Linked DNA regions of Homo sapiens: regions 1, 2, 4, 5 and 6 are each linked to region 3. Evidence: promoter capture Hi-C in human tissues and cell types (Jung and others, 2019). All regions are on one chromosome and are shown on one strand. Each heading gives the region's core, a stretch centred on a gene start or on the middle of the fragment in contact. The rest is flanking DNA. Distances are from core to core; before and after follow the strand shown. Region 1 holds the start of PSMD3 (proteasome 26S subunit, non-ATPase 3). Region 2 holds the start of RAPGEFL1 (Rap guanine nucleotide exchange factor like 1). Region 3 holds the start of CDK12 (cyclin dependent kinase 12). Region 4 holds the start of NR1D1 (nuclear receptor subfamily 1 group D member 1). Region 5 holds the start of MSL1 (MSL complex subunit 1). Region 6 holds the start of LASP1 (LIM and SH3 protein 1).

What was found. Contacts are between HindIII fragments. The study calls those that stand out against the background at their distance.
Region 1: the fragment with the promoter of PSMD3 here is called in contact with the fragment with the promoter of CDK12 in region 3 in 1 of the 25 tissues and cell types used here (heart right ventricle).
Region 2: a contact is called between the fragment with the promoter of RAPGEFL1 here and the fragment with the promoter of CDK12 in region 3, in 1 of the 25 tissues and cell types used here (hippocampus).
Region 4: a contact is called between the fragment with the promoter of NR1D1 here and the fragment with the promoter of CDK12 in region 3, in 1 of the 25 tissues and cell types used here (lymphoblastoid cells).
Region 5: a contact is called between the fragment with the promoter of MSL1 here and the fragment with the promoter of CDK12 in region 3, in 1 of the 25 tissues and cell types used here (liver).
Region 6: the fragment with the promoter of LASP1 here is called in contact with the fragment with the promoter of CDK12 in region 3 in 1 of the 25 tissues and cell types used here (hippocampus).

The regions. Positions count from the first base shown.
Region 1 is chr17:39,978,522-39,982,889 of GRCh38, forward strand. It overlaps PSMD3 (proteasome 26S subunit, non-ATPase 3), which reads left to right and starts at 2,286. Exons shown (of 12, transcript NM_002809.4): 1 at 2,286-2,669. The coding sequence starts at 2,450. RefSeq lists enhancers at 96-1,295, 1,717-1,896, 2,117-2,396, 2,197-3,174 and a silencer at 2,577-2,626. The HindIII fragment of the contact is 7,545 bases long and covers 1-4,368 here.
Region 2 is chr17:40,175,456-40,179,822 of GRCh38, forward strand. It overlaps RAPGEFL1 (Rap guanine nucleotide exchange factor like 1), which reads left to right and starts at 2,015. Exons shown (of 15, transcript NM_016339.6): 1 at 2,015-2,926. The coding sequence starts at 2,407. RefSeq lists enhancers at 894-1,394, 1,395-1,895, 2,287-3,143, 3,144-3,998 and a silencer at 1,927-2,056. The HindIII fragment of the contact is 8,651 bases long and covers 744-4,367 here.
Region 3 is chr17:39,459,006-39,463,108 of GRCh38, forward strand. CDK12 (cyclin dependent kinase 12) reads left to right here and starts at 2,481. Exons shown (of 14, transcript NM_016507.4): 1 at 2,481-4,103. The coding sequence starts at 3,067. RefSeq lists enhancers at 2,258-3,182, 2,543-2,592, 2,683-2,742, 2,908-4,103, 3,133-3,262. The HindIII fragment of the contact is 12,986 bases long and covers 1-4,103 here.
Region 4 is chr17:40,098,494-40,102,506 of GRCh38, forward strand. NR1D1 (nuclear receptor subfamily 1 group D member 1) reads right to left here and starts at 2,096. Exons shown (of 8, transcript NM_021724.5): 1 at 1,571-2,096. The coding sequence starts at 1,601. RefSeq lists silencers at 1-37, 561-910, 921-1,010 and enhancers at 240-1,439, 358-1,342, 1,343-2,326, 1,792-1,861, 2,342-2,461. The HindIII fragment of the contact is 7,590 bases long and covers 1-2,775 here.
Region 5 is chr17:40,119,382-40,123,676 of GRCh38, forward strand. It overlaps MSL1 (MSL complex subunit 1), which reads left to right and starts at 2,590. Exons shown (of 9, transcript NM_001365919.1): 1 at 2,590-3,999. The coding sequence starts at 3,232. It overlaps LOC124904001 (a long non-coding RNA gene), which reads right to left and starts at 2,459. Exons shown (of 2, transcript XR_007065752.1): 1 at 2,403-2,459; 2 at 1,148-2,032. RefSeq lists silencers at 2,041-2,200, 2,431-2,630, 2,671-2,880, 2,941-3,080, 3,181-3,230 and 1 more and an enhancer at 3,431-4,069. The HindIII fragment of the contact is 12,972 bases long and covers 1-4,295 here.
Region 6 is chr17:38,868,281-38,872,336 of GRCh38, forward strand. It overlaps LASP1 (LIM and SH3 protein 1), which reads left to right and starts at 1,778. Exons shown (of 7, transcript NM_006148.4): 1 at 1,778-1,978. The coding sequence starts at 1,910. TRC-GCA4-1 (tRNA-Cys (anticodon GCA) 4-1) reads right to left here and starts at 1,083; the gene lies at 1,012-1,083. RefSeq lists enhancers at 1-31, 32-632, 208-387, 1,878-2,027, 3,040-3,641 and silencers at 1-87, 1,508-1,817, 2,338-2,437. The HindIII fragment of the contact is 16,045 bases long and covers 1-4,056 here.

The sequences.
Region 1 (4,368 bases), core at 1,036-3,535, 520 kb after region 3:
ATATACCAAAAATTAGCCAGGCATGGTGGCATGTGTCTGTGGTCCCAGCTACTCGGGAGGCTGAGGTTAGAGGATCACTTGAGCCTGGGAGGCTGAGGCTGCAGTTAGCCAAGATAGCACCACTGCACTCCAGCTTGGGTGATGGAGCGAGATCCTGTCTCAAAAAATAAAAATAATTTTTAAAAAAGTAGTTCTATGAGTGCAGTACATGTCTGTAATCCCAGCACTTTGCAAGGCCGAGGCAGGAGGATCACCTGAGGTCAGGAGTTCAAGACCAGCCTAATCAACATAGTGAAGCCCTGTCTCTACTAAAAATTAAAAAAAAAAAAATTAAAAATTAGCTGGACATGGTGGCTCGCACCTGTAGTCCCAGCTACTCAGGAGAAGGAGGCAGGAGAATCGCTTGAACCCCAGAGGGGGAGGTTGCAGTGAGCCAAGATCACGACACTGTACTCCCTAGCCTGGCCAACAGAACGAGATTCCGTTTAAAAAAAAAAAAAAGTTTTATGAGTGGAAGAATTTCTCTAAGGATTTTGGTCCGTGGAGTCAGACTCTCCCCCAGTGTCTTAGTCACCCCCTGCCCAGCCTGGTTCCCTCATCCACCAAGAATTCATGACCAACTGCCAGAAGCTTTGTGTTATGCCGCCAGCCTCCCTGATCCTGAGCACCTTCCAAAGCCTCACTCTATTGCTCATGGATATACTGGGTTGTTATCTGCTGACTTGGTTGTTTTCTCCTTGTGATGTAAACTTAATAGAGAGATGAGCTAACACCCTAACTATCTAGAAGAGTAACTCCTTTGATTGTTAAGGATGAACATAACTCATCTGTTTTCTTCCTTACCATTCTCGCCCACCTTCAGTTGCAGATATGGTGTTATGAAGAGGTTCTAATGAGTTTATTCCAATGATGATTCAAAAGTCCTGTTATCCACCCCCCAGCCCTGGAGGGTGAGAGGACAGTTGAGGAGGAACTGGTCAAGGCATGTTCCCTAAAACTAGAGCACATATCTTTCCAGTTAGCGAGTGGCTGTTTAACGCAAGGAACATCCTGCAATCCTATGAAAGAGGATGCAAAAGATATGCAGGATACCCTTTATATATGCAAAGGAGGAGGTCAAAACATATTTCCTGCCTTCTAGGTCCTTACAACAGGGCTAGATTGTCTTGTAGGGTCCGTGAAAGGTCTAAAACTCAGGACTTCCACTTATGGGAGAGAGAAAAGTTTCAAGGTAGGGAGAGAGTTTTTGTTGTGTGTTCTAAGAAATTGGGAGCTATATCCTTCACCTTGTTTCACCTTCCCTGCAGAACCAGTGGGGCAGTCCTTTGAAAAATAAGTGGGTAGGGTTTCTTGTCCAATTTGCTTCCCCTTAGGTACACCACTAAGTAAACCATCATTCTCTCCTTAGGCACACCATTATTCTGTTCCCCATTTCACAATGTCTGTCTGGATGTATAAAAGCCCTCTCAATGGGCTCCCTAAAGCGTCTGCCAGTAGGGGCTCCCACCCTCTTTCCTCAACACTCCCAATCCACCGCAGCCCAGAGCACAGTGTCTGCTTATCTAACCATCTGACTCCCCCGTATACTACATTCTTGAGCTGTTTTTCACCCCCCTATTTGCTAACCGTGGGCCGTACATAGGGTGGACCCCTATATTTTGTTAAACTGGAGTGATTCTACGCAAATGCACGCTCCTACCTATCGGCACTCCCAGCCTGCAGAAATTGTATGCCTTATGTTCAGCACTAAACTCAAATCTAACCAAGGAAGTCCGGATCCCATAGGGTTCTTCCTACTCTCCAGTTCGGTTTATTTTAAGGCCAACAGCCCTAGCTTCACGTCCCTCCTTCACAGCCTTCTTTCCTTCCCTCCTGCCGGATGCGCCCGGCAGCCGTTGAGCACAAGCCCAGCGGATCTGGAAGGAGACCCCGCCGCGACCGGGGAAAATTGAGCGAACTTGGGCGCAAAACCCGCCCGGCAACTCGTGACGTCATCTCGTCCCGCGCTCGGATAGGCTGTACCCACTCCACGCTGGTTGAGGCGCTCTTAAAGTCCTTTGTAACCCAGATTGGAGCCTGAGGGGACCTCTCGTGGACGCCCACAGAAATGCACTCGAGAGGAACATAAAAGCATCACACTTAAGCGCTCGAAAGAAAGCCCCACGAACCCATAAAGGCTCCTCCCCGCTCCTTCCTCGAAGCTCCTCCTTCATCCTGCACCTCGGCTGTGGATTTATTTCCCCTTTGTTGACTCGGCCATCGGCCTGCCGGGCCTGGCGTTTCCCAGAAGGCCCAGCGCCGGGAAGGGGTTTGCAGCTGCTCCGTCATCGTGCGGCCCGACGCTATCTCGCGCTCGTGTGCAGGCCCGGCTCGGCTCCTGGTCCCCGGTGCGAGGGTTAACGCGAGGCCCCGGCCTCGGTCCCCGGACTAGGCCGTGACCCCGGGTGCCATGAAGCAGGAGGGCTCGGCGCGGCGCCGCGGCGCGGACAAGGCGAAACCGCCGCCCGGCGGAGGAGAACAAGAACCCCCACCGCCGCCGGCCCCCCAGGATGTGGAGATGAAAGAGGAGGCAGCGACGGGTGGCGGGTCGACGGGGGAGGCAGACGGCAAGACGGCGGCGGCAGCGGCTGAGCACTCCCAGCGAGAGCTGGACACAGTCACCTTGGAGGGTACGGCAGCCCAGGCCGGGAACGTGCCGCGATCGCGGGTGACAGCGACCCCTGTGATTTGGCTTCTTGCTGGGAAGCCACAGCAGCCTCCACCACCCTCAGTTCTTTGGGATCACCCCCAGATACCTGCTCCCACTGCCCCGACACTCCCGACTCCAGGCCCAATGACTGAACCTTCTCTCCAGGCTGGGAACCACTCCCCTCCCATCCCCTCCATCCCCATATCTGGGGTTGCATCTATATCTAGGTCCCAGTGGGCCTGGGGACTCCCTCTTTTAAGTCCTCCCCTCTGACCTATTCCGTTTATATCCCACCCGACTGATTTTAGCGCCTCCAATATATGACTGATTGTTCCCGCTGGAAACCAGTGTTTGTGTCTGTGTGTAAACAGGGCCAGGATGACCTAGAATATTGACTCCTGAGTTTTAAAACTGTACAGCAGATTTTTGTTGTCCTAGCTGCCTTTAGCACACTCCCCCGAATGAACCATTTCGACCTAGTATCTTGTTTCCTACTTCTCTAACTGAAGTGTCCCAACAGTCCCCTTGCTGTCTCCTCCCTTCAGGTCCTTACTGCCCCTCTGTTTCTAAAGGGTTTAAGTACATACACACTTAAAACTTTTCGGGTGTCATCTTTGTTTGGTTTTGTAATACTCAACCTTTGGCCTAAACTCCTATATACCGGTGTCTCCTATTTCTTTTCTCCGAGGTTCCTGTTTCGAGTGTCTGTAGTCCTCTTGTTCCTCCAAGTTCATGTTTTACTTTTCCCACTTACAGCGTCCTGTTTCCATTTGAAGTGGGCAAAGTGAGAGCTTCCCACTGTGATCCTGGTGCCATTTTCCTGGTTCTGGATCAAGTGGGACCAGACTACTTACTAGGTTTTCTTTTCACTAAAATGCGTGAGAAACTAGCTCAAAAACATTGAGATAAGCAAAGTTATCCTCCTAGGTGGTGCTTTTGAGGATGTGATGGTGTTGACTACATCAGCTCTTACTGTAAAGTTGAGCAACAGGATCGATATTTAATAGAGATCCTTTTACCTAAAGTAGTGGCAGCAATGTCAAAGGTGCCACTCAGCATTGCCTACTGGGTGTGTTTATTACAGGCACTTCATTTTCTTCTTGTAAAGTAATTCATATTCATTGCAGAAATTGTGGAATGTATGAGAAGTTAAAAGCAGGGGATAAAAAACATGGTTAACATTTTTTCTTGTGAATTTTTGAGCTGTTCTCCTATAATTGAGAGCAAGTTATGTATACAGTTTGTATCAAGGCATAACTAAATATAAATTTTGAATTTTATGTGTTTTCATTAACATTCGTAAACATAATCAGCATTCAATTTATTCCAGAAACATTTATTGAATACCCAATATAATGGTTAAGAGTACAAGTTCTGGAATTAGTTCCCTCATCTGTATAAATACAAGTAATAGTACAGTACTTTATTGGGTTGTTGTGAACATTAAAATGCTTAAAACTGTGCCTAGCACATAAATATCAGCTGTTATTATTTATATCATTAGTGTGGCCCAGATACCCTGTGCTAATCGGTGAATATACAGAAGTGCCTAAGAAACTACTCATTGATTGCATTCCCTTATTGCTTTGCATTTAAACTGTTTCTAGTTTCTTGCTATCATAAATAGCTTTGAAGCAATCATCTTTGTGCCCAACTTAAAAAATCTACTTTTCTAATTA
Region 2 (4,367 bases), core at 765-3,264, 720 kb after region 3:
ACTTCTGACCTCATGTTGCACCCTTCTCGGCCTCCCAAAGTACCGGGATTATAGGCGTGAGCTGTTGCACTTGGCCAGTATTTTTTTTTTTTTTTTAATATGGAGTCTCTCACCCAGGCTGGAGTGCAGTGGCATGATAACAGCTCACTGCAACCTTCACCTCCCAGGTTCAAGCAATCCTTCTACCTCAGCCTCCAAAGTAGCTTGGATTACAGGTGTGTGCCACCATGCCCGGCTAATTTTTTTTGTATTTTTAGAAGTGGGGTTTCACCATGTTGGTCAGGCTGGTCTTGAACTCATGACCTCAAGTGATCTGCCCGCCTTGGCTTCCCAAAGTGTTGAGATTACAGGCGTGAGCCACCAAGCCCAGCCAGCATCAGTATTTCTGAGAAGCTTCCCTGTGATTCCAGTGTGTAGTCAGGGTGAAAACCACTGCCACTCCAGGAGGACCATGACTTGATGCTGGCTCTCCTCACTGATTCAAAATGTTGAACTTAGTCTCTGCCTGACATCCTTGAGCATTTGGGGGAGTACTGGGGTCCTGTGTCCCAAGCTTCTAGCTTCCAGAAGTCTCTCAGTCTGTTTTATTTTCAACCCCCTACACCCTTCACACTCCCCAATTCGCCCTTCCTAACCAACAATTCCCAAATCCTGCCCAGAGAGAAGGTTACCAAGGCAACCGGCTTAATCTGGTAACTGTGGCATGTGCTGGGAGAGAAGCCCTTCCCTCTTCCTATTCAGTTCATAAAATGCTACCTGGGGAGCTCCAACCCATTCCAGCCACTTTCCCCTTTCAAGCCAGGGGATATTGGAGTGTCCAATAAGGGGAGCACAGGAAGCTGATACTCAGACCTCTAATACAGCTTCTTAGCCAAAATTGTGCGCTGTCTTCTTTTTACTGTTTCCAAATCCACAAACAGATGGGTGTGCAAAGCTTTATTTCTGTGAACACATGCTCTAGCACACATGGGAACAGATATGCACATACATTGATACGTATGTCATACACACCCTGTTCAGTTTTACTACCACTCCCAGCCATTAGCATTCCTGTCTCTGCCTGGTTGGTGCTCGGTAAACAGGGGTGGGGCATTGTCCAGAGAGCCTCAACCCATCGAGAACCTGCTGCCACTCCCACACCTTGTAAGTCTAACCTGGATGTTCTCACACTTAGCATGGCTTTACGATGCACCCCCCTCCTCCCCCACACTCCTTCTGGGGCAGCATATCCTTAAGGACAGAATGCTCCTGGTGTGGGCATCAGGAGTAAGGATTACTTGGAGTGCTAATTGGCACCACTTTTCCCACTCCATGGCCATGTACACTTGGGCTCTGTGCTTGATGATAGTCGGCAGTTCTGGGGCTTGTCACCTGTCTCCATGGCCCTGCTTCCTTCTGCTGCCAGCTGGGCTCAGGTGCCCTTGTGCTCCTGGTCTCCTCCCCACTGCCTATTATCCCCTCCTCACCCCAGCTAGACCTGCCACAACCTGCTGCTCCCTGCCTGGCTCCTACCTGCCTGCCAGTACCTGCCCACAGACCAGGCCCACACCACCTATTGTGCCCTACCAGAGAGGACAGATGGGCACCGCCTCCAGTGGCAATGCTAATTCACCCAAGAGGCCTTCCCAGCTCTTCTCACAGAAGGAAGATAAACTCCACATATTTCTGTGAGTATGAGAAAGGTGCACACTCTTGGGTTCAGCAATCTGTAGGCCTGACTTGGGTACACAGGTAGGTGAGTGAAGGTGTCCAGGCCACAGACCTGTCCTGACTCTTTGAAATGATGCTGAGACCCGGTTATCCCTTGAGCCAGGAATCCTTCCCCATTGGTAAATCTCTGACTTACCTTTGCCCTTAATTTCTTCTGCTTAGAACCCAAGTCCCTTACTGTTTCCCTCGCGGTCAACCCCAGCGCGCGAGTTCAAGCCTCGTGCGGCGCGGGGGCGAGCCGAGGAAGGGTAGGGGCGGGGACTGGGCGGGGACTGGAGGAGGGGGCGCGGTCTCGGTTCTGCCACCTTCCCCCTCTTCACGGCCAGGAGCGCAGCCGCCGCCGCCGCCGCCGCCGCGTCCTCTCAGCCTTGCGCTCCGCCCGCTGCCTCTGCCGCCGCAGCGCAGAGCCGGGCGCACCGGCCCCGCAGCCTGCCCACTCTTCGGGCCGCGTGCCGGCTGCAGCCGGCATGGGGGGTTGCTGAGAGCGAGCACTCCTTTCCTCTGGCACCTCCCCCGGCTACTGGCCACTGGACTCTGGCCAGCGAGGCTCGGCCCCTCTGGCCCCCAGTCTGGCGCCTGGCACGGCCCTCTACTCTGCTCCTCCAGCTCTGAGCATCGTGTCTTCGCCGCCCCCCCCGCCCGCGCCTGGGATACCTGGGTCCCCCGGCGACCCCTAGGAGAGGGGCGGGGGGGGGCATGAAGCCGCTGGAGAAATTTCTGAAGAAGCAGACGTCGCAGCTGGCGGGCCGAACGGTGGCGGGAGGTCCCGGCGGGGGTCTGGGGAGCTGCGGTGGGCCTGGAGGGGGTGGGGGACCCGGCGGGGGCGGCGGTCCAGCCGGGGGACAGCGGTCGTTGCAGCGGCGTCAGAGCGTGTCTCGCCTGCTGCTCCCCGCTTTCCTCCGGGAGCCCCCCGCCGAGCCGGGGCTGGAGCCGCCCCCTGAGGAGGAAGGAGGAGAGCCGGCGGGGGTCGCGGAGGAGCCGGGCAGCGGGGGGCCCTGCTGGCTGCAGCTGGAGGAGGTGCCGGGGCCCGGGCCTCTCGGGGGAGGGGGGCCCCTGCGCTCCCCTTCCTCCTACTCATCTGACGAGCTGTCCCCAGGCGAGCCCTTGACTTCGCCGCCCTGGGCCCCTCTGGGCGCCCCCGAGCGGCCCGAGCATCTTCTGAACCGGGTTCTGGAGCGGCTTGCTGGAGGGGCTACCAGGGACAGCGCCGCCTCAGGTAAGGAGCCGGTGGGCTCGAACACCCAGAGCAGGGGCTGGCCCCGGCTCCTCTTCCTTGCCCTTGGAGCGTAGGGGTGGCGCCGTGCCGGGGCTTGGTTATAGGGTTGAGTGGTCCGCGGAAGCCGGCTAGGGGCCTAGCGGAGGTACAGACCCTCCCGCGGAAGAGGAGAGCAGTACTCACCTTCCTCCCTACAGCAGCCTCACCCTCGTCTGGAGAAGCAGCTGAGCCTCTTACTCTCCTTCAGCCACCCTTCCTTTCCCCTGGGCATTGGAGCCACTGACTCCCATGGGTCCCTGATGTTGAATACCTCCTCCTGTGGCCCCAAATTAGGGCCTGACACATTAAAATGGGAGCTGCCCAGCGCAGCCATGCCACCCGCCAGAGGTGCTTTAGCCCTGAAAACCCTGGGGTCCCTGACTGTTCAGAGGCCTACACAGCGCAGGCTGACCCACCCAGGGAGGCAGTGCCAGACAGGCACAGGCCCCAAGCTGCCTTTTAGGCATCAGCAAAGGGATGCGTTGTCCTTAGCAGTTTGGTGGGGGGGATAGTATTCTCCTTGGGCTGGACTCAGAAGGTGTCTGGGAGGGGAGAGGTGGCTGGGCCGGCATCATGGCCCTGCAGCATCCAGGGTGTCCAAGCGCCTCCAGCTTCCACCCTTCGGTGGCAGGCCTCAGCACCCGGCTTTTTTTTTTTTTTCTTTTGGAGATGTAGTCTCACTGTCACCCAGGCTGGAGTGCAGTGGCGCCATCTCAGCTCACTGCAACCTCCACCGCCCAGGTTCAAGCGATTCTCCTGCCTCAGCCTCCTGAGTAGCTGGGACTACAGGCATGTGGCACCACGCCTGGCTAATTTTTGTATTTTTAGTAGAGACAGGGGTTTCACCGTGTTAGCCAGGATGGTCTCGAACTCCTGACCTCGTGATCCACCTGCCTTGGCCTCCCAAAGTGCTGGGATTACAGGCGTGAGCCACTGGCCTGGCTAATTTTTGTAGTTTTAGTAGAGACGGGGTTTCGGGGTTTCACCAACTTGGTCAGGCTGGTCTTGAACTCCTGACCTCGTTATCTACCTCCCCCCACCCCCACCCCACGGCCTCCCAAAGTGCTGGGATTACAGGCGTGAGCCACCGGACCTGGCACACGGCCTCTTTAAAATATAATCACCACACCCTGAGAAGCTTATTCCCTAAATGATGATACTATTTCACCACTCCCTTTCAGCACCCCTACTAAGGGGCCTTTGAGGAAACCAAGGCCCCAAATCTGGTTAGTTCTGAGGTAGAAGACCGAGGGTTCTTTAGGTCTAGCTCTAGGCATTACTCTAAGCCCAGGAGGGTCTGAGGTTTGGGAGCCCCGGCTGAGGCCCTAATGGTGAGGGCTTTCACACTTGCTCTCAGCCCTCGGCAGGGAACCCCAACCTAGATGTGTGGAGGGGGGCTCCA
Region 3 (4,103 bases), core at 1,231-3,730:
CTGGGATTACAGGCATGAGCCACTGCTCCCAGCCACTTCTTTTTTCTTGATAGCATTAATTTTACTTCCATAGAAGATCAAAAAGTTGTCGTGGAAAACTTGGTCTTTTTATTTTTTAAATTTTTTTATTATTTACTTATTTATTTTGAGACGGAGTCTTGCTCTGTTGCCAGGCTGGAGTGCAGTGGCGCGATCTCGGCTCGCTGCAACCTCTGCCTCCAGGGTTCAACCTCTGCCTCAGCCTCACGAGTAGCTGGGACTGCAGGTGTGTGCCACCAAGCCCAGCTAATTTTTGTGTTTTTAGTAGAGACGGGGTTTCCCCATGTTGGCCAGGATCGTCTCCATCTCTTGACCTTGTGATCTGCCCACCTTGGCCTCCCAAAGTGCTGGGATTACAGGAGTGAGCCACTGTGCCTGGCCTGATCTTTTTATTTTAGAACCAATATTTATGGACTCAATCATTTAGAGACGGCGGGCGTGGTGGCTCACGCCTGTAATCCTAACACTTTGGGGGCCAAAGTGGATGGAATGCTTGAGCCCAGGCATCTGAGGTCAGACTCGGCAACATAGCCAGCCCTCCATCTCTACAAAAAAATAAAAATAAAAATTAGCTGGGCTGGTGGCCTGTGGCTGTAGTCTCAGCTACTCAGGAGGCTGAGATGGGAGGATCACCTGAGCCCATGAGGGGAAGGCTACAGTGAGTTATGATTGTGCCACTGCACTCCAGCCTGGGCGACAGAGCGAGACCCTTCACACACACACACAAAATTAGGTTAAAAAAAAAAAATGTTTTGGATCGCCCTGTGAGCAAAAGGAACAAGAACATTTACAGAGAGTGATTTTTGAGAATTGAGACTACCTTAATTCAGAATGTTTTCTGGTCCTGAATTTACCAGCTGAACTTCTCCGTTTTGGACAAGCCCCTTCATTTCTCCATGCCTTAGTTTTCTCACTTATACAACCTATTTCAGAGGACTGTTGTGAAGATGGAATGACTTAAGGTAGGCGAAAGTTTTTTAAAAAGTAATAAATGAGGGGCCAGTGTAAGATAGTGTTATTTTCTTGTTAATTAATACTATGCTTTTCTTGTTCATATTATAATCTTTTGTATGAGGATGAAAGGCTAAATTATCCAATAACGGCCATGGGAGGATCTCAAGATGGGATGAGCTTTTAGGTTCTGAGATTTGAAGCAAAGATTGGTAAGGAGACAACACCATAGGATGGAAGAGCTTGTGTTTTAGTCTCAGAAAGACATGAATTTGAATGTTGACTGTGGCACTTGTTGGACCAAATTATTCAACTTCCCTGAGGCTGGGATTCCTTTTCTATAAAACAGGGATGAAAATCTCGTGTTTTGCAGGATAATTGTGAAAATTAGAGATAATGTATGTAAAATTCTTGGCAGGTAGCACACACCCTATATGTGGGAAGCACTGTTAAAACACTCAGGGACTTGGGTTGAAATGTCCCGACATTTGTCTTTTGCTCTGTAAAAAATAATCTCAACCGGGCGCGGTGGCTCAAGCCTGTAATCCCGCCACTTTGGGAGGACCAGACGGGCAGATTGCTTCATTCTAGGAGTTCAAGACCAAGGATCGCGGATTGCTTGAGTCTAGGAGTTCGAGACTAGCCTGGGCAACATGGCGAAACCCCATCACTACGAATAATAGAAACAAATTAGCACGGCGTGGTGGCGCGACTCTATAGTTCCAAGTACTCGGCAGGATGAGGTGGGAGGATTGCTTGAGCCCAGGAGGTGGAGGCTGCAGTGAGCCGAGATCGTGCCACTGCACTCCAGTCTGGGCAAAAGAGAGAGAACTTGTCTCAAACAAACAAAAAAATGGCCCGGCGCGGCGGTTCACGCCTGTAATCCTAGCACTTTGGGAGGCCGAGGCGGGAGGATCACTTGAGGTCAGGAGGTCGAGACCAGCCTGGCCAACATGGTGAAACCCTGTCTCTACTAAAAACAAAAAAGTTAGCCGGGCGTGGTGGCGGGCGCCTGTAATCCCAGCTACTCGGGAGGCTGAGGCAGGAGAATCGCTTGAACCCAGGAGGTGGAGGTTGCAGTGAGCCGAGATCGCGCCACTAACACTCCAGGATGGGCTACAGAGCGAGACTCCGTCTCAAAGGAAAACAAAAAACAAACAAAAAAAAGTCATCCTGGTAGTTAAAAGATTTGTTAAAAAGGATGTTGAAATTATTTTGTCACGGAGCCTGGGAGTGTTTGTTTAATCAGTTACCGATAAAGTTTTGGTTAAAAAAAAAAAACTCGGTTTGTTCCGTTTCAATAAAGCTTTGCTCAAACGGGGAGCTCCGGGAGCTCATCGCGAGACTCAGGTGAAACGCGTTTCTAGTTTGGGACCTGATCTCGCGTTGTTTGATAAGCAGGGGAATGAGGTGAAAGCGAAGCACGAAACATCGCGAGAGGCTACTGGACTCTCGCGACGATTTCTGGGATTGCCCCTCCCCCCTTCCCCAAGTGCCGTTTCGGTTTAATCTAGTGTGTGACTGGGTCTGTGTGAGGGAGAGAGTGTGTGTGGTGTGGAGGTGAAACGGAGGCAAGAAAGGGGGCTACCTCAGGAGCGAGGGACAAAGGGGGCGTGAGGCACCTAGGCCGCGGCACCCCGGCGACAGGAAGCCGTCCTGAACCGGGCTACCGGGTAGGGGAAGGGCCCGCGTAGTCCTCGCAGGGCCCCAGAGCTGGAGTCGGCTCCACAGCCCCGGGCCGTCGGCTTCTCACTTCCTGGACCTCCCCGGCGCCCGGGCCTGAGGACTGGCTCGGCGGAGGGAGAAGAGGAAACAGACTTGAGCAGCTCCCCGTTGTCTCGCAACTCCACTGCCGAGGAACTCTCATTTCTTCCCTCGCTCCTTCACCCCCCACCTCATGTAGAAGGGTGCTGAGGCGTCGGGAGGGAGGAGGAGCCTGGGCTACCGTCCCTGCCCTCCCCACCCCCTTCCCGGGGCGCTTTGGTGGGCGTGGAGTTGGGGTTGGGGGGGTGGGTGGGGGTTGCTTTTTGGAGTGCTGGGGAACTTTTTTCCCTTCTTCAGGTCAGGGGAAAGGGAATGCCCAATTCAGAGAGACATGGGGGCAAGAAGGACGGGAGTGGAGGAGCTTCTGGAACTTTGCAGCCGTCATCGGGAGGCGGCAGCTCTAACAGCAGAGAGCGTCACCGCTTGGTATCGAAGCACAAGCGGCATAAGTCCAAACACTCCAAAGACATGGGGTTGGTGACCCCCGAAGCAGCATCCCTGGGCACAGTTATCAAACCTTTGGTGGAGTATGATGATATCAGCTCTGATTCCGACACCTTCTCCGATGACATGGCCTTCAAACTAGACCGAAGGGAGAACGACGAACGTCGTGGATCAGATCGGAGCGACCGCCTGCACAAACATCGTCACCACCAGCACAGGCGTTCCCGGGACTTACTAAAAGCTAAACAGACCGAAAAAGAAAAAAGCCAAGAAGTCTCCAGCAAGTCGGGATCGATGAAGGACCGGATATCGGGAAGTTCAAAGCGTTCGAATGAGGAGACTGATGACTATGGGAAGGCGCAGGTAGCCAAAAGCAGCAGCAAGGAATCCAGGTCATCCAAGCTCCACAAGGAGAAGACCAGGAAAGAACGGGAGCTGAAGTCTGGGCACAAAGACCGGAGTAAAAGTCATCGAAAAAGGGAAACACCCAAAAGTTACAAAACAGTGGACAGCCCAAAACGGAGATCCAGGAGCCCCCACAGGAAGTGGTCTGACAGCTCCAAACAAGATGATAGCCCCTCGGGAGCTTCTTATGGCCAAGATTATGACCTTAGTCCCTCACGATCTCATACCTCGAGCAATTATGACTCCTACAAGAAAAGTCCTGGAAGTACCTCGAGAAGGCAGTCGGTCAGTCCCCCTTACAAGGAGCCTTCGGCCTACCAGTCCAGCACCCGGTCACCGAGCCCCTACAGTAGGCGACAGAGATCTGTCAGTCCCTATAGCAGGAGACGGTCGTCCAGCTACGAAAGAAGTGGCTCTTACAGCGGGCGATCGCCCAGTCCCTATGGTCGAAGGCGGTCCAGCAGCCCTTTCCTGAGCAAGCGGTCTCTGAGTCGGAGTCC
Region 4 (4,013 bases), core at 846-3,345, 640 kb after region 3:
TAGTTGGCAGTAAATGAAGTTGACCTAGTTCACCCATCCCCCAAAAAGGAGTGAGACCTTCATGCAGAGGCTTCCAACGTGGAAGTGAGGAGCATACTCAAGAGTCTAGGTCTAGGTCTAGACCCATCACTACCAACTTATTTTGTGACCTAGAGGACATCAACTCCCCTCTTTGGGTCTCAGTTTTCCTTTCTGTGAGAAAAAAAGGACAGTATCATTTCAGCTATGATTGTGGGGTGCAGTTGCTTTGGGGAGCCCTTAGTAGGCAAACTGCAGCTTGTCTGGTGGAGATGGGGGTAAGACAATGCTCGCAGAACTAAGGAGAGAGAAGCTTGGGGAACAGGAATTTGTAATGTGGGGAAGCTGAGTCTAAATGCAGTACGGTGAAGTAGGTGCAAATAAGAGTGAAGTGGAAAGGAGTGAGAAGGGTGGTTAGGGGTGAGGTCTCTTTAGGGAGTGTAAAACAGAAGGCCATGAAAGGTCAGGAATGGCTCCATGTTACTTTGTTTTGGTGATGGGGGAGGGGGCCGGGCAGGCGGACCGGAAAAGGAGGCAGGCGGGGGCGGTGAGTCAGCCCAGCTTCACCCAGATCTCGGCGGGGCGGGGCAGGGCGGGAGCTGGGCCCTCAGCCGGCCTCACGTCCCTGCTCCACGTGTGCCTCTCGCACGTGGCTCCCCAACGAGGAACCCCGGAACTCGAGGCCCCGCCCTCCTCGCTTCCCGTCAATCGAGAGCAGTCGCCCCGCCTCCTACCCGCCCTTCCCCGGCCACCAGGTCGTGGGCTGGACCCCGAACGATAGCAGGGCCAGGACAACCTAGGGGAGGAGAGAAGGGAACACGCGTTGCCGGGGCGACCGGGGGGGCGGAGCTCATTATGTAACGAGGCCGGGAGGCAACGACCAATGGGGTGGCAGCCACGGCTTCTGCTGAATGAAAACAAACGCAGCACGTGGGCCCGGCTCTAGAGCCATGTGAGCCCTCCCGGCGGCCGGAGCCCTGTAGGTGCCCTCCCTCGGGCCGGGCACCACGCTCTGGACTCCTCAAGTGTCGCTCCCTCCTGTCACTGAGGATTCCCCAGTGAGATCCGAACGATTCTCCCAGCCCCTCCTTCCCTGAACCCCATCGCGCCACTCTTCTCAGATTCCCTCGCGCCTGCAGGAACTAGAGGAGGGGGAAGACAAGAGGGGAGGGGGTCCGTTTTCTGAGGCCAGGCATACTACAGCTGCAGGTAGTGGACAGATGGGGCCGTTTCGGGGCACTGTTCCAAAGCTCCCAGTCCCCCTAAATTCTTCGCTTCACCACCCGTACCTCCTCTCCATTTCCTCCTGCCCAGGGATTCGAGGCTCAAGGGAGCTTTGGGACTCTGAGGGGTGGTGATGGGGCGTTTCTGAGAGCATTTCCAGCCCGAACAAGCCGCTCTGGAAATCCCACACTAAAGCACCGCAGCACGTTAGCAAATCTCCGGGCCGAGGGACACCCCAGTCCCTTACAAAGTTCCTCTTTTTATAAGGCGTAGATGGAGGTGGGGAGACAGTGACAGGGAAAAGATGATAGTAAAGAAATCTCAGTACCTGTGTTGTTGTTGGAGTCCAGGGTCGTCATGTCTTCACCAGCTGAGAGCGGTCATTCAAACTGGACCTTGACTCAAACTAGAGGTTGCGATCGCCGCTGTTGCCCCCTGGGCACTGGCTAAGGGCGGGGAGTGGACCCCGCGACTCACGATCAGGATCCGAAGCACCCTGCAGCAAGGTCTTGGGGTGGCCGGACTGCAGCCCTGCAGAAGGGTTGGACGTTGAGGCAACGGAGTTCTGCTTTGCATGGGAAGAGCAGAGAGAGTGTGTAGGGGGAATCAGCCTGCAGTAGTTCTGGCTAGAAGGTAGCAAGGAGGGTCGGGTCTCTGCAGTGTACGGGGTGCCTCTGCCTGCCGGCTCCGCAGCGCTGCGGGGTGGCGAATCTGGAGCTCCCGGTGCAAAAGTCCCAGAGGAAGAGAGGTTGCAACCAGGAAGTAAGTAGGTGATGGGGAGAAACGGGGCACCGAGTCGCAAAGAGGCGAGACGTGTGCCCTGCTACGTTCCCTCGGCAGTAATATTTCACTCTGCCAATCTCAGCCGCCTTTTGCCCGAGCCTTTCCCTGGGACAGAGGGCTCTGCGCAGGCGCCAGCAGCCCAGGGTTCCCGGGCCGCACGCGGCACTGGAGCAGGTACCATGTGATCCCAGGGAGCGCCTCGTGCCCCAGTGACACACTTTTCCAACAGCCGGCACGTTGAGCTCTTGCGCGCCTGCGCAACGACAAGACTGTCGGGATTTGTAGTCCACCGACAAAGTGGGCGGACTGCGTGCCTTTCCCCTTTCTGCCTGGCAAAGCGCTTGCCGGGACCTGGGAGGAGCTGAGAGTGGGGTGGGGTGGGGTGCGCTGAAGAGTCAGGGTGGCGTGTTTAGAAAGCCTGTATGGCAGGGGCATGTGAATTTCTGGGGAGGGACTGGCAAGCTTGTTTGCTGTCTGGGAGATCAAAGCTAAGAGGCCCTTTCTGCAAACCTTGCAAACGTGAGGGCTTCACGTGATTGCAGGACTGACCTCGTCCTGAGGTTACTGGTGACCGGGAGAGAGAGAAGCCGGGGAGGGAGATTTCCCTGGAGTCAGGAGCTTAGGCTGCCCTCTGCTTCAGGGCAAAGTCCAGAGAAGGAAAGGAAATGTGACCCCCTTTCCCTTCTACTCGCCTTAGGGAGAACACCTCCAGGGGAAGGAGTTCCCACAGAGGTAGGGATGTCTGTAGGGACTCCCTGTTTGCTTGTATGACACCATTCCACCCACTCCAGTTGACTTTGGGGTGAGTCATTTCCCTTTGTCTGGGAAATAAAAAGGACAACAGAGGGGAACTAATAGTGAAAGTGCTTTGAGGTCCTAAAGTAATGGGGAAGAGGTGAGGCAGGGGGTGGGGGCAGAGTGACACCCCTGCCCCTCGGTGCTGGAGGATAAAATATGAATTCCACAGAAGATTACTACTCAGAGGGGAACATGTAGATCATCTTAAGCCTCCCTCTTTTTACTAGTGGGGAACAGGAAGCTTAGGAGAAGTGACCGACCCAAGGTCAGACGTCCATTGCTAGTTTCATCTGCCCACCCCGAATGGGAAGGTGGGTAGATGTACAAGTGAAATACTGAACAGGGGTTAGAAACAGCCAGCATTGCCGGGTGCTTTGGCTCATGCCTGTAATCCCAGCACTTTGTGAGGCTGAGGTGGGTTGATCACCTGAGGTCAGGAGTTTGAGACCAGCCTGACCAACACGGTGAAACCACGTCTCTACTAAAAATACAAAAATTAGCCGGATGTGGTGGTGGGTGCCTGTAATCCCAGCTAGTCAGGAGGCTGAGGCAGGAGAATCGCTAGAACCCGGGAGGTGGAGGTTGCAGTGAGCCGAGATCGCCATTGCACTCCGGCCTGGGGGATAGAGTGAGACTCTGTCTCCAAAACAAACAAACAAAAAACAGCCAGTATTTCGCTTCAGAGCAGCAACTGTCCCATGAGTAATAACAGATCTCAAGTAGAGGAGATCTATCATGTTAGAGGGCTTGGGTCATGGAGGGGATGGAAGCTTCTTAGGCAGCGAAGGGAGAGGGAGCCTGAGCCACCTGCTGCTCCCGCTAATTCCTCCCCAGTCCCAGTGCTTCTAGAGAGGGTTTTCTTCACATAGGAAGCCCTTCTCCACAGGCAGCTCCTGGGATGGTATTGATGGATGCCTGGGAAACATGAAAGCCACCGAAAAGGTAGAGAAAAAGAATATGGGAGTCCGGGGGTGGTGGCTGACACCTGTAATCCCAGCATTTTGGGAGGCTGAAGTGGGCAGATCACCTGAGGTCAGGAGTTCGAGACCAGCCTGGCCAACATGGTGAAACCCCATCTCTACTAAAAATACAAAAATTAGCTGGGCGTGGTGGCGCACGCCTGTAGTCCCAGCCACTCGGGAGGCTGAGGCAGGAGAATTGCTTGAACCCAGGAGATGGAGATTGCAGTG
Region 5 (4,295 bases), core at 1,340-3,839, 660 kb after region 3:
CTCTACTAAAAATACAAAAATTAGCTGGGCATGGTGGTGCATGCCTGTAATCCCAGCTACTCTGGAGGCTGAGGCAGGAGAATCGCTTGAACCCGGGAGGTGGAGAGGTTGCAGTGGGCTGAGATTGTGCCACTGCACTCCAGCCTGGGCAACAGAGCAAGACTCCGTCTCAAAAAAAAAAAAAAAAAAGAGTAAGACTGTAGAAGTGGTATTTGGGTGTTTGGGTGGGAGGAATTCGGGAGCTTGATTTTTAGATGTAAGTTTGAAATACCTAGGCCGGGCGCGGTGGTTCACACCTGTAATCCCAGCACTCTGGGAGGCCGAGGCGGGCAGATCACGAGGTCAGGAGATGAGACCATCCTGACTAACACAGTGAAACCACGTCTCTACTAAAAAATACAAAAAATTAGCCAGGCGTAGTGGCAGGCGCCTGTAGTCCCAGCTACTGGGGAGGCTGAGGCAGAATGGCGTGAACCCGGGAGGAGCTCGCAGTGAGCCGAGATCGTGCCACTGCACTCCAGCACTCCAGCCTGGGCAACAGAGCAAGACTCCACCTCAAAAAAAAGAAATACCTATTAGACATCCAACTGGGTATGTATACTAGACAGTTGGATATATGATTCTGGAGTTAGGGGATGAGTCCAGAAAGAAATATAAATTACGGAGCTGTCAGCGTAGAGATGGTGCAGAAAGTCTTGACGCTGAAGGCTGGGCACAGTGGCTCACTCCTATAATCCCAGCACTTTGGGACGCCCAGGTGGGAGGATCGCTTGAGCGAGTTCAATACCAGCCTGGGCAACAAAGGCTGGTATTACAAAGGCCCGTCTCTACAAAAAAATAAAAAGTTAGCCAGGTGTGGCAGCCCAAGCCTGTTGTCCCAGCTACTTAGGAGACTGAGGTGGGAGGATCACTTGAGCCCTGGAGGTTGAGGCTGCAGTGAACCATAATTGTGCCACTGTACTCTAGCCTTGGGGACACAGCAAGACCCCAGTGCCACAAACACACAAGCCTTGACATGGAAAGAGATCACCACATTCTATGTGCCCTCTCATCCCTGCTCACTCCATTACTTGGTGTCCCTAAGCTCAATACTTCCCTTGCTGATCTGAGGCCATACAGTCTGGTGAAAGAGGGCCGGACTCTTGGCTTCTTAACACATTCACATACGTTTGTTTAAAATTTCCAGTGTTTCATGCTTTCAGCCCACAAAGCACAGACACAGTTTTAATGAGAGGTTTTCACATCAGGCCAGAGAATGTCAGTCTTCTCCATCTCCATAGAGATTTTAAAAAGCACACCTCAGACAAAAAAGAAAAACAAGCAATTAAGACTATTTCAGGGCTGGGCACGGTGGCTCACACCTGTAATCCCACCACTTTGGGAGGCCGAGGCGGGCGGATCACCTGAAGTCGGGAGTTCCAGACCAGCCTGACCAAGGAGAAATCCTGTCTCTACTAAAAATACAAAATTAGCTGGGCGTGGTGGCGCGTGACTGTAATCCCAGCTACTCGGGAGGCTGAGGCAGGAGAATCGCTTGAACCCCGGAGGCGGAGGTTGCAGTGAGCTGAATTTCACCATTGCACTCCAGCCTGGGCGACAGAGTGAGAATCCGTCTCAAAAAAAAAAAACGTTTTTTTCACAAGGAATTCTGAGGACTTGTTGGCTCAATTGCTTGGACATAAAGACACACATACATGAAGCTGGAGAGATAGGAAGAAGCGCTCAACACAGAACACCCTAAGTATCCCTACTCCCTTTCAAGGACTAAATCCCTTCAGAGATTTCCTTTGCTTCAGTCCTTCAGGAGCCTCCCGAAGATGCTAGGAGTCGTTTAAGAAGGCTGGAAGATGGCCGTTGGGAAGGAACTGTTGGTAGCTGGCAATACTTCATCCCAAGGAGGCGGTGGCAATAGCTCCCTGGGCAGCAGACATCATGGATTTTCCTCCCTCTGGGAACCAGAGGTCCCTCCGTTTCTGGTTTGAATCCCTTAGAGACAAAGAACTTCATTCTCTCCCATACCCGCGTGGGACTGCTGGGGAGGAGAGGGGGTGGAGGGGTTAGACTTCTACCCCCATGAAACACCCGCGGGCTCAAAGAGGAGCCTGGATCCTGACTGGTCCAGGAGGCGTGCGGGGCCGCGGGGCCCCTCCGGCTTGGGCCAGGCGCGTTGCCAAGATGCCCGGGGAAGGGGCCGCCCGGCGCAGGCCGGGGACGTGGAGCGCTCGGGGCGCTCCCACGTAGGCCACACATTGGCCGCCTGTATCCTCCTTCTTTCCTCTCAACTCCATTCTCTCGCGCTTTTTTCCCGGGGAGCCTCCGCTTTCCCCTTCTTCCCGCGGCCGCCCTCGCCCTTCTTCCCCCTCCAGACCCTCCCCCGGCTCGCCCCTCCCTCGGCAGCCCACCTTCACCCCGCTCCTCCGCGCGCTCCTCGGTCCTCGCCCCTCAGCCCCGGCCTCCCCTCGCCGGCCCCCGGCCCCCGCGGTCCCCTCCCTGCCCCCCTCGAGGCGGCGGCGGCCCCTTTCACAATAGCGCGGCCCGCCTCCCTCCTCTCGGCTCCCGGTGCACTCCCGCCCGCTCCCCTCCCCGCGCATGCGTCCTCCGGTTGGCGGCGGCTGCGGCGGTGGCGGCTACGAGCGGCTCCGTTTTTTTAAAGGGAAACGCTGAGGCGCCGGGGGTGACTGTGGGGGAGGGGGACCCCGAGCCGCGGAGACCCCCGGGAGAGGCGACAGACCCCCTCTCCCGGAGTAGGAGGGCTTTGGGCGGACCCAGCCCTCCACCCCCTCCTGAGGAGGAGGGGGGGGAAATGGAGGCTCGGGGCGGTTGAGGCGAGCTCCGGGGCGGGGGGCCGGGGCGGGGAAGGGGGGGTGCGGGGTGGGGAGACGAGGCGGGCCCGGCCGGGCCAGGGGGGGCCGAAGCGAGCTCCGGGGATGAGCTCGGGGGCGGCTGGGTGCGAGCTCCTGCCTCTGAGGCGAAGGCGGCGGCGGCGGCAGCAGAGGCGGCGGCGAGGCCCCCATGGGCCGGCGGCGGGCCTCAGCCGCGGCCTCCACGTCTCCGCACGCCGGCGGGATGGCGCCCGGGCCCCGGAGGAGCCGCGCTAGCGGAGGCCTGCTGCCGCGCTGCTGAGGCGAGCCCGCCAAACTCCCCTCCCCCCCCTCAGTCCTCGACCCCCCGCACCTCGCCCCTTCCCCACCCCCTCCTCCGCCTCGGTGCCCGGCGCTGCTCCGGACCACTATGACCATGAGATCCGCGGTGTTCAAGGCGGCCGCGGCCCCTGCCGGCGGCAATCCTGAGCAGCGACTGGACTACGAGCGGGCTGCGGCGCTGGGCGGGCCCGAGGACGAGCCTGGGGCGGCCGAAGCCCACTTCCTCCCCCGGCACCGTAAGCTCAAGGAGCCGGGGCCCCCGCTGGCCTCCTCCCAGGGCGGGAGCCCCGCGCCTTCCCCGGCCGGCTGCGGCGGCAAGGGCCGGGGCTTGTTACTCCCGGCCGGGGCGGCCCCCGGGCAGCAGGAAGAGAGCTGGGGCGGTTCGGTGCCCTTGCCCTGTCCGCCCCCGGCCACCAAGCAAGCCGGCATTGGGGGGGAGCCTGCCGCAGCCGGAGCCGGCTGCAGCCCCCGGCCCAAGTATCAGGCGGTGCTGCCCATTCAGACGGGCTCTCTCGTGGCGGCGGCCAAAGAGCCTACGCCCTGGGCTGGGGACAAGGGTGGGGCGGCCTCCCCCGCTGCCACCGCCTCGGACCCGGCGGGACCCCCACCACTACCTCTGCCCGGGCCGCCACCCCTCGCGCCCACCGCCACCGCCGGGACCCTGGCGGCCAGCGAGGGCAGATGGAAGAGTATGAGGAAGAGCCCTCTCGGGGGTGGTGGCGGCTCGGGAGCCTCCAGTCAGGCCGCCTGCCTCAAACAGATCCTTCTGCTGCAATTGGACCTCATCGAACAGCAGCAGCAGCAGCTGCAGGCCAAGGAAAAGGAGATCGAGGAGCTGAAGTCAGAGAGAGACACGGTACGGGAGGGGTTAATCTGCATTCGGGCCGAGGAGCGAGTTGTGCGCATGCTCGGGGGAAGGGGGCTGTAGGAGGTTAAGGCACCCCCGGGTTAGGGGTAAAGGAGGTTGGCCACCGGCAAAGGAGTATCTTAGGCGCTGGGTCTCTGGGAGCCAGGCTCACAGACACGTTGGGTTGGAGGGAAGGGTTAAAGGGCAACCTCTCAGGGGGAGGGGGAGGGGTTTCAGGTGCCAAAGGGTTAATTTAAAATGACAGCCCCAGACGTGTGGGAAAGACGTTTAGTGGAAAAAGACGT
Region 6 (4,056 bases), core at 528-3,027, 590 kb before region 3:
CTCTGCTGATCTGTGATCTCTCTGTTCAGCCTAGAGATACAGCTCACAGTAATAGGAGCCAGGAGAAAAAAATGCGCGTTTCCCCGGGGTCCGAGGAATGACACAACCACATTCCGGGTTTAAAATATCGCAGCTGCCCTTTGACCCAGGCAGCACGCCTCTTCCTTTCTCCTTTATTTTTCCTTTTTTTGGGCAAAACCTAGTCGAGGGGGACGCCCTTGTCTCCCGTCACACTTACCATTTTCCTCCGGCCCAACAGTGACCCTGTCAGGCACGCAGCCAGCAGATACTTGTCCCCATCTTTAGGTTATGAAACTCCATGGCCTTTTATTCTTACTTCAGTGGTTCTTAAAATGTGGTCCCCACACCAGCAGCACCAGAGGCACCTGGAAACTTGGTAGAAATGCAAATTCTCGGGGCCCCCTTACAGAATCAGAAACTAGCAGTGTTTTAACAAGCCCTGCAGGTAATTCTGATGCACGTTCAAATTTGAGAAACACTGTGTTCGTTTATCTCAGTTTGCACTGGGTTATAACTTTACTTTTGTACATTAATAGTCAAGGATGAACACAGCACGTCCATGTCACCATTAATACAGAAAGTTGAAGTTGGAGAAGGGCTGTGTCTATGGGTTTCCCTCGCCTGACCCACCCTCCACCCCCAAAAGGAACGCCAAGTTGAGGCGTTCCCCTGTCTCCCTACCCCCATTGGAAACATCCTGTCCCTCAAACCCGGCACCTCGAACTGTCTGACCCATCTGAGGCTGGCGCCCGTGGCCGCAGAAATCCCTACACCTCTGGCGCGAGTAATGCGGTCGCGCAGCTTTTATACCCACCCCCTCCTCCCGCTGAGCACAAAGTAAAACCGAAAGATTTCTGCTAAGGTTGAAAAATGAGGAAGATACTTTTTCTTTTCTTTTTTTTTTTTTTTTTAGTCAGGACCCAATGTTAAAATGTGAGTCAAGAATGAAAAACAGATGGTTAACAAGGGGAAGGAAAAACCAAGCCATTGAGGGGGCACCCGGATTTGAACCAGGGACCTCTTGATCTGCAGTCAAATGCTCTACCACTGAGCTATACCCCCGCGCCTCTACAGCGCCTGGAGGCGGCTCCTTGGGTGCTAAGCATTGTTGCAGCTGCTACACTGTGAGTAGTGGTGTAACAGAAGGAGAAAGGAATGCTGGAGAAAAAGGGGTCAAGCTGAACGCAGACGGTGCCCGCATCCGGGGAACCCCGGGAAGGTGCACTGCAGGGGCTCGAGAGGGAAGCACTAGCCCGGGCCCGGCAGCGCGCAGGGTCCAAGAGGGAGGGACGGGTTCCGCCCCACAAATGTGGGAAAGGGTGTGGGCCGGAAGAGAGCTAAGAGGGGCAGGGTAGGGGGTCCCCGTTCGGTCCGCAGATTCATGCCGGGTAGAAAGTCCCCGAATGCGGTGAATCAGTTCCAGCGTTCAGGAGGATCCAACCCCACCCTCGACGGGCTTGAGGGGTTAGCCCGCCTCCCGCAGCCCGGGCGCCCCAGATGTGCAGCCTGCTCGCCTCTGCGCCGCCTCCGGCTGGGGAAGGGCCCTGGGCACCGGGCGCAGTCAGCCTGAGAGCGCTGAGGCGCCAGCACCGCGGGCCCCGCCGTCCCCCCAGGAACCCGCCCCCGCGCAGCCCCACGTCGCCCGGAGAGCGCGCCTCGCTGCGCGTGCCCTTGCCCGCGCCCGAGGCGCGTGCCCGCCCCAGTGCAGCCCCTCCTCCCCGCTGTGTTTATTAGGGGAAGGAGGGCGGAGGCGGAGGCCAGTTCCCCAGCTCCAGCCGCCGTCGCTGCTGCCTGTGTAGTTGCAGCCGCGGCCGCCTCCCGCCAGCTCGCCTCGGGGAACAGGACGCGCGTGAGCTCAGGCGTCCCCGCCCCAGCTTTTCTCGGAACCATGAACCCCAACTGCGCCCGGTGCGGCAAGATCGTGTATCCCACGGAGAAGGTGAACTGTCTGGATAAGGTGAGCCCGGGACCGGGAGACGCGTCTTTGCAATCCCCCGCAGTGCTCCGAATCCAGGGAGGAGAGAAGGGCCGGGTCTTTGCCGCCTTATCCCCGCGATCCCAGGAGAATGGAGGGAGGGCGAGCGGGCGGTGTCATGGGGTGTGGGGACACATCCCAGTCTGAAAACCAGGAGATCTGGGGCGAGGCGGGAAGTCCACGCGTAGCGGGCAGCCGCTGCTGGAGAGGGGTGGGCTCTGTGTCCCGGGGTTGGGAGGACGGGAGAGGAGCAGGGAAGTCAGGCGCCGGGGTGTGTTGGGGGAAGGTTAGGGGTGCAGTCCCGCCCCCTACGGCCTGGAGAGTGAGAAGAGACGGCCGCTCCCTCTCCGCTCTGCGCCGAGCGCCAAGTAGGCGGAAGCGCGGGGCGCTGGTGGAGGGGGCGGGGGGGCGGGGCAGAGGCTGGGGGGCCCTGCAAAACCGTCCGCTCCGGCGGGGGTGGCCTGGCTTCCTGGCCTGGCGGGGCGGGGGCTATCAGCCTGCGAGTGTGTGGCATCTGATGCGGGGGGTTTTGGGTAAGGACCCGGGCTCTGCCGCAAGAGCCCCGTTTTTGAACGACCTGCACCCCCTTGGATTCAGTCGTTAAAGGACTCGCAGACCTCCTCCACAGCTTCCCAACCCCCACCTCCAATTAAAAGCCAACTCCCGGTGCTGGGCCGTCCAGCCTGAGCCGGGTGGGGTTGGGTGGCAGAGTAGGGTGGGTGGAGGGTGCTTAGCTGAGATCTCCTGAAATTGTGCTCAGAGCCAGGAGACCGTGTGGAAGAACAAAGAGCTAACTTTTCAAAGCAGGTTTCTCCAATGGAGGGTGGGGTTGGCTGAGTTCTGGGGAAGCCGAGGAAAGGGGGAGGTATTGGGGGGAGGGGAGGGTGGCCTTGTGGAGATTCAGTGTCCCCTGGGGGCCCTGTCTCCCCAATGCTGGACTTGTTCATCTGGTTGCCATTAGACTTTTGGAGGGGGGTTGGAGAGTAGAACTGGGTGTTTCCCGTACAGTTTAGGGTAGGATCCTGTTCTCTTGTAAGCTCCGTAAGATCCTAAGGTAAAACCTGCCCCTCTGCATCCCCTCCCCAGTCTGGAGGGGAGGCCTCTGTGATTTTGTGCCCTTCCTCACCGCGTCTTTCATCCACCACCCAAAGCTGGCTCCAAGTCCAAGTATTCTGTCCTTTCCATCTGAACTGGGAGGGCTGGGAGGACTGGATGGAAGAGAGGTGCAAGGGTGGGAACACTAGATGAAAGAGGGGTATAGAGCCCTGGGGCCAAGTTCATTACTGACCTGGAGCCAGGTTTTGTTCAGGAGAGGATAGTTTATTGGACACCTTATCTCTCCCCTCCCCCTTGGTGTGTGAGCTTCCTCAGTGACCTTTGGCCTCTGAGTCAGCGTGAGGAGGTGGGGTTGGAGGTTCTGAAAGATATTTGAACTTGCTCTTGGGGAGTGTGGGCATATGGGGCCGCTGCTGTGTCACTGTTCCTCCTGGTCCTGGGCTTGACTGGGCAGGAGGAGAGGAGGGGGTATATTGTGGGCACGAGGAAAGTTGTTGATCTCCCCATGACCATGCCAGCCGCTGTTGGGCAGGACTTGAGCTTAGAGCTATCAGATAATGAAGTCTCCCCTTGAGAATGTACCTGTCCTTGCACACTGGGGTTTCGCCCGCCCCTCGTGGCAGAGATTTTGGCCTCTGCATCTTGAGTTCCCTGTGGTCCCCTTCTTCTCCACAGTCATGAATTGGGAAGAGGCAGTGGGCACTTGACCCGTATAAGGAAAAAGCAAAACATGAAGGCAGGATTGCCACTCCAGGAGTTGGGAAACTGGGTCCTTGTTCCAGGTCTGCTCCCACCAGTTTTATGAATGTCTCTAGGCCTCAGTATTCACCATCTGTCAGATGGGTATGATGATGTCATTTCCTTAAAGGTGGGGCAGTGCACTAAAGTCCCTGAGTGCTAAAGAGGGTGCTGTATAGACTATGCCCTCCCTACCTCTCTGGGATGCTCTGTTCAGCTCCACACCACTCCCCTTGGAAAGACCTTCAGTGCCGTGTACCCGAGGG